2 separate regions of the Homo sapiens genome follow, and region 1 is linked to region 2. The links are contacts of gene promoters, found by promoter capture Hi-C in human tissues and cell types (Jung and others, 2019). All regions are on one chromosome and are shown on one strand. The core of a region is centred on a gene start or on the middle of the fragment in contact, and the rest is flanking DNA. Distances in the headings are between cores, read along the strand shown. Region 1 overlaps ZEB1 (zinc finger E-box binding homeobox 1). Region 2 holds the start of LYZL2 (lysozyme like 2).

Region 1 (5,580 bases), core at 2,098-4,597, 810 kb before region 2:
TAATCAGGATACTGAAATAAAATCTAAAGAATAATGAAAGGTAAAAAGGACATTTATTAGTTGATGAATACTATGTTGTAAATAAATATCTGTGGATTTTGAAATAAAACAATTTTTATTTTATGGTTTTATGAGACAATAATAAGATCTATTTTCTTATTTTTGAAAGATAGTAGTCTATTTAAAGTATGAAAAACATTTACCTTTCCTATTCATGGCTACATAACATTATATAAAATGAAAAGGAAGGTAATACTTGCTGAACACCAGCACAAGTGACTTCTCCTTCCAGCTAGTGCTGAGGGAAGCTGCTCTCTTACTGCACAGACGCCAGGAGGGAGGCCTCGTGGAGAGCGCACGCTTTCACTTGTCAAGGGCAATGAGCATCCCCAAAGTACAGGTTATAGTATCTCACATACACCCAAACACACAGTCAATTATTTAAATAGTTTCAACCACAGGAGTTGGCATGATTTTCAGCTTTTCTCATCTTATGAAAAAATTTTAAGAAATATTTTGACATTTACTAATCCCAGAAGGTAATTCTCCTTTGATTGGCTTTGAGGCTTATCGATTAGTAGCAGAACTGGTTGTGAAAAATAAGATGAAGGAAGAGGACAAGAATTACATTCTAATTCATTTTATTTGGTTCTCCAAGATTCCTTCAAACTAGTAATGCTGTATGTGTAATTTAAAACTCCTGACCATGGGAAGAGAAATCATAGGAAAAGTGAAAAGAAAAAGATCATGAACCCCAAGGATGTAGTTTGAGGACGGATCCTCCCTTACTTCCATGGGAATGACAACATATAGTAATCTAAGTAAGGCTTATTGGTTGCCAACTAGGAGACTTCCTTTCTGGGAGCTTTCCTGAGAGCCAAATTTCAACATGGGACACTAATTCCCTGAGCCTAGTTTTGTAAAGAAAGTCTTTCTACTCCTTCATTGGAAAGACATGAAAGAACAAGGGGGATAATTAATGAAATTTTAATTGGAATTTATTTCCTGATGAAGTATTAAAAACAAACAATTTATAGGTAACTAGAGTTTAGTTTTACTGAGCTTTTCTAAGCATTATAATATGTTACAAGCTTGAGTTGTCAAATTAGAATGAATAATTTAGTTCCTCTGACTTAAGTGCTTCAGAAGATAGGAGAATGAAGACATTTAATATCTAGTCTCCACCTCTGAGATATACGTAATCTTTGCAAATATGAGTAATATACATGAAGTATTATATAGAGAAATGTCATAGTACATAATTAAATGCTAAATTAAAAGTGATGCAGAAAATAAATACTATAAGAATCCTTACCTAATTATATTAATCTCTCTTTTATGCCTTGCTAATGTGCAACAGAGGTAAAATTGAGTATTTTGTTTCTTTGTTATTTAAAATATATTGTTGGGAAGTTAAATAAATTTGAACTGTAGTACCAAAAAATCCTGATGTTTTGTTTTACCTAAGTTACCTGAGTAGCAGTGTGAATTAAAATCATCTGTGGACATAACTTATTCCAGAAAATAAATAATATCCAATAAAGCAGAAGATCATGCAAACTAACTACCCATTTTCTTATATAAACTTTTTGGAGAATAAGTGGGCTTTGTGATGAAAGAAGTGGACATTCTTGGAAAACACAAACAAATAGAAAATTTAATACCATATATAAAAATGAAGTGGGAAATAGGTATTTTAAACGTACTTTAAAGAAATTATGACCTGTCACATTTCTACTACTGATATATAGAAAAGCTTACAACCAATGCTCCTCGTATACTTCTGCACCCTGCTTCAACCCTGATCCACAAAGTGCTTATTACATATTCAGTGCTTTATATGCACTGAATCCATTAATCCTTACAGAAGCCACTTGAAGAATTTTTATTATCCTTATTTTATAGACAATGAAACTAAGACTTAGATTACATAACTTGCCAAAGGTTGACCAGTTAGTACTGGTAACCAGGACTGTACCCTAGGCCATGTGGCTCCGGACATGCTCTGAACAGGTTACTGTGCTGTCTCTCCAAAGACAGCAGAAGAGTAGAGCCCATAAATGAAAAAAAAGTCCTTACAAAAAAACAAAACAGAATAAAAGTGTGGTTCCCAATGAATTATTAAAGACTTCATTGACAAGTACTTAATCAAATCTTTCTGAACTTCTCAGAATCTAAGATGATAAAACTTAAAGCACCCTTATTATTCTCCTTTACTTCAGAATGAAAATGAAGGACATACATAATAATCACAAAACTTCAGGTCAAGAGATTGTTTTGTTCTCTTGATTCGAAATTTCAGATGGCTCTCCATTGCATATGCCATAAATTCCAAACTCCCATACATGGCGAATAAGGGTCTCCCGACTGCATACATTATCGCTTAAACAATCTCTTCATCTTCACTTGCTACTGTTCTGCAAAGTATATTCAATTTCCCAGACATCCTGAACTTTCATGCTTCTGCTATGTATTCTTCCTCTTCTCTAGGGGCAAATTCCTACTCATCTTTTGGAACTCATATCCCGTCTATCATCAACAATCCTCTCCAGGCACCAATGCCACTAGTTTGCTTCCGCCTGTAAACTTCCTCCTCAGGACTACAATACCATGTCATTGGTCCCTTGTTTCCATTTACCACACAGCAGCCGGGGTGATCTTTCAAAAATGTAAAGCAAAATGTATCACTCTCCTTCTTAAAACCTTTCAATGGCTTTCCATTGTTCCATCATTCCTGCAAGGCTCCACATTTTTGGGCCTGCACCTTTTCCACTATTCTATTCATTCTCGCTAAATGACCTGTTTTTGTTCTTTGTAAATGGCAAGCCTTCTCTACTCCATGCCCCTACACTTGCCTTTCCCTTGGCCTGAGATTCTGTTTCCAACTCCACACAGCTGGGTCTTTCTTTTCCACTCCAGTGTCATAGTTCCAAAGAAGACTTCCATGATCACCTAAACCAACATGCTTTATCCTTTACTCTTTCACATCATCCTATTTCCTTCAAAGCATCCATCGTAGTTTGTAATTATCTTGTTTAGTTACTTGTTTACTTTCTTTTACTCTGTATTAGTTTTCTATTGTTGATGTAACAAACTGACATATCCCTAAGAGGCTTAAAATAGCATACATTTATTATTTCACAATTAGATGCCCAATATGGGTCTCACTGGACTAAAATCAAGATGTTGGCAGAACTGTGTTCTTTCTGGAGACTCTAGGGGAGAATCCACTTTCCTGCCTTTTCCAGCTTGTAGAGGCTGCTGCATTCCTTGGCACATGGCCCCTTCCATCTTCAAAGCCAGAAATGGCCAGTTGAAACTTTCTCATGTCGCATCATTCTGCCACTGACCCTTCTTCAAACTCCAGCTTCCACTTTTAACATTGCATTTTGCCTAGCCACATAACCCGAAGTAATCTCCCTATTCCTTTGCTACTTAATAATCTTTTTTTAAGTAATGTAACATATTCACAGGTTTTAGGGATTAGGACATGGACATATTTGGGAGGCCACTATCCTACCTACCACACTCCCCCACTAAAATGTAAGCTCCATGAGGGCAAGGACATCATTTTGTTCCCTCCAGTAGTCTAAATTCCAAGCTTTACAGGGCATAACAAAGGCATATAAGACATCTGTTGAACTAATGAACAAACTAAAACACTGCTGCTTTATTGATGCTCTTCTTGACCTTTCCTGACTCTTGTTCTTTGCGCTTTTGTATTATTTTTTATTCCGCTACAATAGTGACTATATCCCTTCATGTTTACATTATGTTCACATCTATCATTAGGTCTTTGGTCAAGTGTTCAGTGTTCTGATCATGTGTCAGTAAAGGATTAAGTGTTATGAAAAATGTATTGACTCAACGAATTTTAAAATGAAAGGGACATAAAGTTTCAAAAAGTTTATGTTAATGATTTGGTAATTGTTTTTATGGCTTCCTAATAAAATTCAGAGTATTCTGATAATGTGTCAATAAAGGGTTATCCTGCTGTGAAATATATGTTTATTTAATGAATTTTAAGCCTGGTTAAGCATCTGAAGATATGTCTCAGCTTCGTATTTTATACTTGAGAAAACTGAAATCCAAATAAGTTAAGTAATTTATCTAGTTATATAAAAATTGTGAGCTGGCACTAATTCCAGTTAACTTTCTATAAAACCTACCTCCTAAGGTTACCATGAAGATTCCGTGAATGCATTTAAAAGCACATAAACACAGTGCCCAGCACATAGCAGTGCTTTATAGTGGGGGCACAGATGCTTTATTGGCATGATCATTATTCTAAACATTACATATTGCCCACTTATCAACAACAAAAATAACTTATGCAAAATAGTTAATAAATAATTGCTGAATCAAAGAATGATTTTAAAAGTAACATGGTTAAATAATTTTTAACATGCTAATTGCTTTCCTACTTTTATTTTTATAGAAAAAAGCAGGTAAAGAAAAATAAAGTAGGGCATGCATATTACATTGATCTTTATCATGGAGTCTTCTTTAACTTATTTGAACTAAAAGCAATTTCTTTCCTCCATTATTGTCTTTTCAGCAAGGTCAAAACCATTTTTATAATAATACTAAGGCAGTACTTGCCCTTTTCACTTCTTTGGCATTTGCACTGATGATACAAAGACAATGGTAGGTCAAACTGTTGGCATCTTAGCACTTACCAAGGCAGCAGCAGCAAACTATATCCTTGTAGCCCTCACTGCCACTCATTTCCAGTTAAAAAATTTGCCAGTTTCACTTAAGTACATCCTTGATGAAGTAGTAAAAATTACTTTAATAAGTTTTGACCCTGTAGTGTATGTCTTTTTAGTGTTCTGTACAACAAAATGGGATGTATACACAAAACACTTCTGCTGGACATCAAAGTATAACAGATGTCTTATGGAAAATCACTCCTGGAATTAAGTTGCTACCGAAGTAGCTGCTTTTTTCATGGTACATCTATTTAACTTGAAAGAATAACCAACTGACAAACAATGGTTATTCAGGTTTGAGTATTTGGCAGATATTTTCTCAAAAATAAGCCAAATAAGCCTGTCATTTAAAGGAAGACAAATTGGCCAAATTTGTTGCCAATAAAATTTGAGCTTTCAGATGTAAATGAGAATTTTGGAAAACATGTTAACTGCAGCTGAGTTGAATTTTGCAATTTCCTAATTTTGAAGACCCTTCTGAAGAGATTGGTGCTGCTATTAGTGATTTTTTGATTGGGTAAAATGGAATGTGTCAACATTTGGAAGATCTGGACAATTCAGTGAACCAATATCTTCCAAATAACTAATGCATGATGTTGCAAATTAGTAAGTGGGTAAAAGGCCCACTCAAAGTTCAAGAGAGCAGTGATTTTTTAATGTAACTATAAAATTCATTGATATGGTTTTATATTTTACATCACAACTAAACTTTAAGAAACTGCTACTTGGTGAGTTTTGGTAATCAAAGAATATCCACAATTATCTAAAAAGGCTAATTCCAACTAACTATCTATGTGAGGTTAGGTTTTAATACAGTTCAACACATTGCAACAGCTAGAATATAGAAGCAGATATGAGAATTCAACTG
Region 2 (5,602 bases), core at 1,534-4,033:
TTTTAATTTATACTTCCCTGGTGACAATGATATTGATCATCTTTTCATATGCTTATTTGTCATTTGGATTTCTTATATGATGAAGCGTCTGCTTAAATCAGTTGCCCATTTTTTAATTGGGTCATATGTTTGCTTATGGTAAAATTTTAAGAGTTCTTTATATATTCTGAATACAAGGCTTTCATCAGACATGTGATTTATAAATATTTCTTCCAGTCTGTAGCTAGTCTTTTCATTCTCTTAACAGTGTCTTTCAAAGAGCAAACATTTTTAATTTTGATCAAGTCCAACTAAACGTTTTTTTTTTCTTTCATGGATTGTGCTTTTGTTGTTGTGTCTAAAATGTTATTGCCAAACCCAAGTCCTGCTGATTTTCTATGTTTACTTATAGAATTTCATAGTTTCATTTTTTACTTTTATGTCTTTGATCCATTTTAGATTAATTTTTATATGAGATATAAGGTATGTATTCTTCAATATGCCTTCTTTTATTTTGTTGGTTTTGAACATGTGTTTTGAGCATAGACAGTCTTATTTTAGTACCATTTGGTGAAAAGAACATCATTTTTCCATTGAATTTAATTAGCATCTTTATAAAAAATGTTGTTGACTAAATATTCATAGATCTATTTCTGGGTTCTCTCTTCTGTTCCACTGGTCTATGGGTCTATCTTCCCACCAATATCATTCTCTCTTGATTACTACAGCTTTATATTGTCTTAAAATCATGTAGAATGAGTCCTTCAATTTTGTTCTTTTTCTGAATAGTTTTGTTTATTGTAGTCCATTTGCCCTTCCGTATAAGTTTTAAGATCATCTTATTGATATTTTCAAAACAATTTTCTGGGATTTTAATTGGAATTCCATTAAATCTATAGATTAAATCTTAACAACATAGAATTTTTAAATTCAGGAACATGGTATTTCTTTTCCACTTAGGTCTTCTTTAGTTTTTCATCTGTCTTACAGTTGTCAGAATATATATCCTGCACAGATTTTGTTAGGTTTACATTTAAGTACGTCATATTCTTGTGTGTGCTGTTGTAAATGATATTTTTTATTTTAGAAGAATCTAAAATATTTTGATTCCTAGTATATAAGAATAGAAATGGCTTTTGTATATTTACTATGTATCCGAAAACTTGCTAAACAAGCATTTTTGAAAAAAAAGACAATCTGTCTCTATTTTCTCATTGACTATAAAATTCCTATTTCAAAGCACTTTGAAAAAGATGTTTGAAGAAAAACCTATGTATTTTCTCGTATTATAGACAATTCACAAGAAAAAGCACACAGGCCAGATGCCGTGGATCATGCCTATAATTTCAGCACTTTGGGAGGTTGAGGCGAGCAGATTGCTTGAGATCAGGAGTTTGAGACCAGTCTGGCAGACATGGTGAAACACCATCTCTACTAAAAATACAAAAATTATCTGGGCGTGGGGGCACATGCCTGTAATACCAGCTACTCGGGAGGCTGAGGCACGAGAATCGCTTCAACCTGCGAGGTGGAGGTTGCAATGAGCCGAGATCACACTACTGAGCTCCAGCCTGGACAACAGAGGGAGACTCTGTCTCAATTAAAAAAAAAAAAAAAGAGAGAGAGAGAGAGAAAAAAGTCCACAAATGGCTTCTGAAGATAAGAAAAGATGCTCAGACAGCTTGAAATAAGGGAAGCTGAAATTGAAACTTTGCTGACAAATTATGTTTCATCTCTAATATTAGCAAATATCTTAACCTTTGGTAATAGGGTATGCTAGCCATCTTCGTCATACAAGCCCACGTGGAAGGCAATTTGGCAATATCTAGCAAAATTACAAAATTACAGTCCTTAACCCAGCAATTCAATTTCCAGGAATGTATCCTACAGATATTCTTGCAAATGTACAAATGACAAATGTACAAGATTACTAATTGTAATATGTTTATCATAGAAGAAAAAAATACCTTAAGTGTGAGTCAATATGGAATTGGCTAAATATGTTATATCTACACAATGTAATACTATATAAACTTAAAACTAGATTTCAACAAGATCTTTGCATTATTTGCAGATGGAATTTAATAAAATACAATAATTAGTTAGGTACAACTAACAACAAACTTATACTGAGATCTACATATTCCAATGAGAATTCATTTCAAATGTGTCATTAAATCTGAACACAGAAATAAATGGACCTTCAAACTAGCTCTTTATTGAGTCACAAAGTGTTAAGCCAAATTTTTAAAAAACAATGAAATCATGTTAATTATACATAAAAATTTTTTATTTCTTTTGTGGCCCTCCTTTGACAATATTTTATTAATTAACAATATAACTATAGCAAAGAAATGTGCTGTTAATTAATTTTTAATGTTAATTTCACCTCTCATTCATTTTCAGATTTTAGTTTTGTGTATGTTGATAATTTATGTAGCATATTAGTACAGAGGTACAGAAGTGTGATTTATAATTTAATATACATCTAAAGAGGATACATGCTTAACTTTATTAATGGAATTTGTGATAAAGTTTGCAGACTGTTGCCTTAGAGAAGAGCTCTCACTTGGACGGGAGGCCCTGGCCAAGTTGTGTAGTGAGGACAGTTGTTGAGAGGAAAAGAGAAAAAACGAGAGGTATTAAGGCCCAGAAGAGAGTTAGCACCTGCTTCAGAACACAAGCGTGCAGGATGATATAGCTTTTAGTGCCAAGAAGTAGAATTCTAGCATCTCTAGGTGGTGAGAAACAAAGGACTAAGAATTTTTCTTTCTCTAACACTCTAAAGAAAGGTTCTTGAGCTAGGAAAGGATTACTCGAGCCTTGTTAGAATCAGACATGGCTTCAGGGGATGCAGGACGCTCCCCTGAGCTGCCTGTCACCGACTAAGTGGAGCAGTGTTTCTTCCGCAGACTCAACTGAGAAGTCAGCCTCTGCGGCAGGCACCAGGAATCTGCCTTTTCAGTAAGACCTAAATTACTCTTATGAAGCCACCTGTCCCTGAGAACCAGCAATGGCAGGTTCTTGAAGGATGTAGAACATGATGCTTGGGGTTATCATTGCTACGGGTTTTGTTTTGACTTGTTTGAGATCAGTTAACATTCTAAGGCAGAGGATGGAAACCAACCTTATTTGTAAGCTCTGCATCTTTTTTTTTTTTTTTGAAACAGGATGTCACTCTGTTGCCCAGGCTGGAGTGCAGTGGCACAATCACAACTCACAACAGCCTCAACCTCCCAGCCTTAAAAGATCCTCCCACCTCAGCCTCCCAAACAGGTGGGACCACAGTCACACACCACTATGCCTGGCTAATTTTTGTGTATTTTGTAGTGACAGAGGTCTACCTTTGTTGCCCAGGCTGGTCTCAAACTCCTGGCTTCAAGCAATTTGCCCTTTTCACCCTCACAAAGTGCTGAGATTACAGGTGTGGGCCACCATGCCCAGCCTAAGCTCTGCATCTTAAACCTCGTTTGTCTGTCCCTCACAGCTTAGCACAATGCTGTACACCACGGACTGGCATGATCTCTCTGAAAAGGGCCAGATAATAATATGTTAGGCTTTGTGGTCTATACAGCCTCTAACACAGCTACTCAACTCTGCCACTGCAGCAGGAAATCAGCCACCAACAATATATTACCAAATGATGAGAGTAGCTATGTTTCAATAAAACTTTACATACAAAAGCGGGCCTGGTTTGCCCACGCTTGCTATTCACGTTTGTAATGTACATGCCCCTCATGCAATGCAGTTCCTTATCTTATTGCTTAGTCACCTTAAAGCCCTGCTTGTTACTCGGTGCGGTGGCCTTGCTGATGACTACTTATCCCTGTTTTGGGCCTAGCCTTTCAATGCAGGAATCCAGCCCCAGGGAGAGAAACTAATGACTAGAGAAGTTTCCAGGCAAGTGCAGAAAATGACACGGGATGAACATATGTAAGAACATCAAGTTCAGGATCCCGAGTAGTTGTCAGAAATTTCACTTCACCCCATCCCAGCAAGGCTGTTGTGTTTGGGGAAGACATTATTTTAAGAGGGGAGGAGATTGTGGAAAATCAGTAGGCAGCAGGAGACAGCGCTCTTGATCCTACTCCCATTTCAGACGATTCTATGGGGGCCTCTTTATTGTCCCTCTGCTCCCCCAGGTGCTTTCCTCCTTTCATGAGGCTTTGTCCTCCATCCCTCTTGCTCCCCAGTCAGGTGCCAGACTTTTAGGAGGCCGCCCGGAGCACTGGTTGTGAAGCTTAGCAAAGCAATGCATTTGCAATCTAAGATAAAACACTAGTACTTTGGAAGCAATGCTCCCACATTTTGAAATGCATCAAGAAAAGAAAAGGAAAGATTAGGTGCTTAATCTTCACCCTTCAATAAACCCCCAAACGATGAATCTTTTTTTTTTTGAGGCGGAGTCTCGCTCTGTCGCCCAGGCTGGAGTGCAGTGGCGCAATCTCCGCTCACTGCAAGCTCAGCCTCCTGGGTTCACGCCATTCTCCTGCCTCAGCCTCCCGAGCAGCTGGGACTACAGACACATGCCACCACACCCGGCTAATTTTTTTGTATTTTTAGTAGAGACGGGGTTTCACCGCATTAGCCAGGATGGTCTTGATCTCCTGACCTCGTGATCCGCCCGTCTCGGCCTCCCAAAGTGCCGGGATTACAGGCGTGAGCCACCGCGCCTGGCCTAGACGATGAATCTTAAAGTTTTCCATTCAGGTCCACGTGTATTTCATCTCTGGCTGAAATGGGGTGTCTGTTTCTACACACCCAGTTGATCCTTGAACAAATGTAGGGGTCGGGGTGCCAATGCCTGCTCAGTTGAAAATCTGCATGTAACTTTTGACTCCCCAGAAGCTTAACGACTAATAGCCTACTGCTGACTGGAAGCCTTACCAATAACATGAACAGCCAATAAACACATATTTTGTACGTTCTATGTCTATACTGGATTCTTACAATAAAGTAAGCTAGAGAAAAGAAAATGTTATTAAGAAAATCATAAGGAAGAGAAGATATATTTACTATTTGTAAATATTAACTATTTGTTAATAGTAAATATTTACTATTATATTATATTTACTATTTGTTAAGTGGAAGTGGATCATCATAAAGGGCTTCATCCTGGTGGTCTTCACACTGAGCAGGCTGAGGTGGAGGAGGAAGAGGAGGGGTTGGTCTTGCTGTCTCGGGGTGGCAGAGGCAGAAGAAAATTCACGGATAAATGGACCCACGCAGTTCAAACCCATGATGTTCAAGGGTCAGCAGTATAGGGAATGTTTCACCCCTGTATTCTATTTTTCATTCATAGAATTAAAATAGAAATCCTAAAAATGCCCCTTGTGGTTTTCACCTGGATGTGTATTAAGGAAGGTTAATTTTTTCACTTACTTAACCCTGAGAACACAGCATTGACTTGAAAGTTACTGTATGGAAAAGCATTAAGGAGACAGCCTGCAGTCACATTCCTTCCCTGGACCGTAGAGTGGCCGGTTTTCCCTGATGGTGGCACTGAATGACCAAAGTGACAGGCAGCATCTAGGCAGGGCTGTGCACAGTCACCGATGCTGGATTTCGAAGTTCCTGAATCAAGATCGTCTGACCTGTTCTCCGGCTCTTTGGCAGGTTCTGT

What was found. The method cuts DNA at HindIII sites, captures the fragments that hold promoters and counts their contacts. A contact is called where the count stands out against the background at its distance.
Region 1: a contact is called between a fragment that was not itself captured here and the fragment with the promoter of LYZL2 in region 2, in 2 of the 25 tissues and cell types used here (dorsolateral prefrontal cortex and mesenchymal stem cells).

Annotation. Positions count from the first base shown.
Region 1 is chr10:31,432,906-31,438,485 of GRCh38, reverse strand. All of the region lies in intron 1 of ZEB1 (zinc finger E-box binding homeobox 1), which reads right to left. Among named protein-coding and RNA genes, the nearest start is that of ZEB1, 120 kb to the right of the region's middle. The HindIII fragment of the contact is 3,845 bases long and covers 1,425-5,269 here.
Region 2 is chr10:30,626,934-30,632,535 of GRCh38, reverse strand. LYZL2 (lysozyme like 2) reads left to right here and starts at 2,783. Exons shown (of 5, transcript NM_183058.3): 1 at 2,783-2,943; 2 at 5,596-5,602. The HindIII fragment of the contact is 10,435 bases long and covers 1-4,523 here.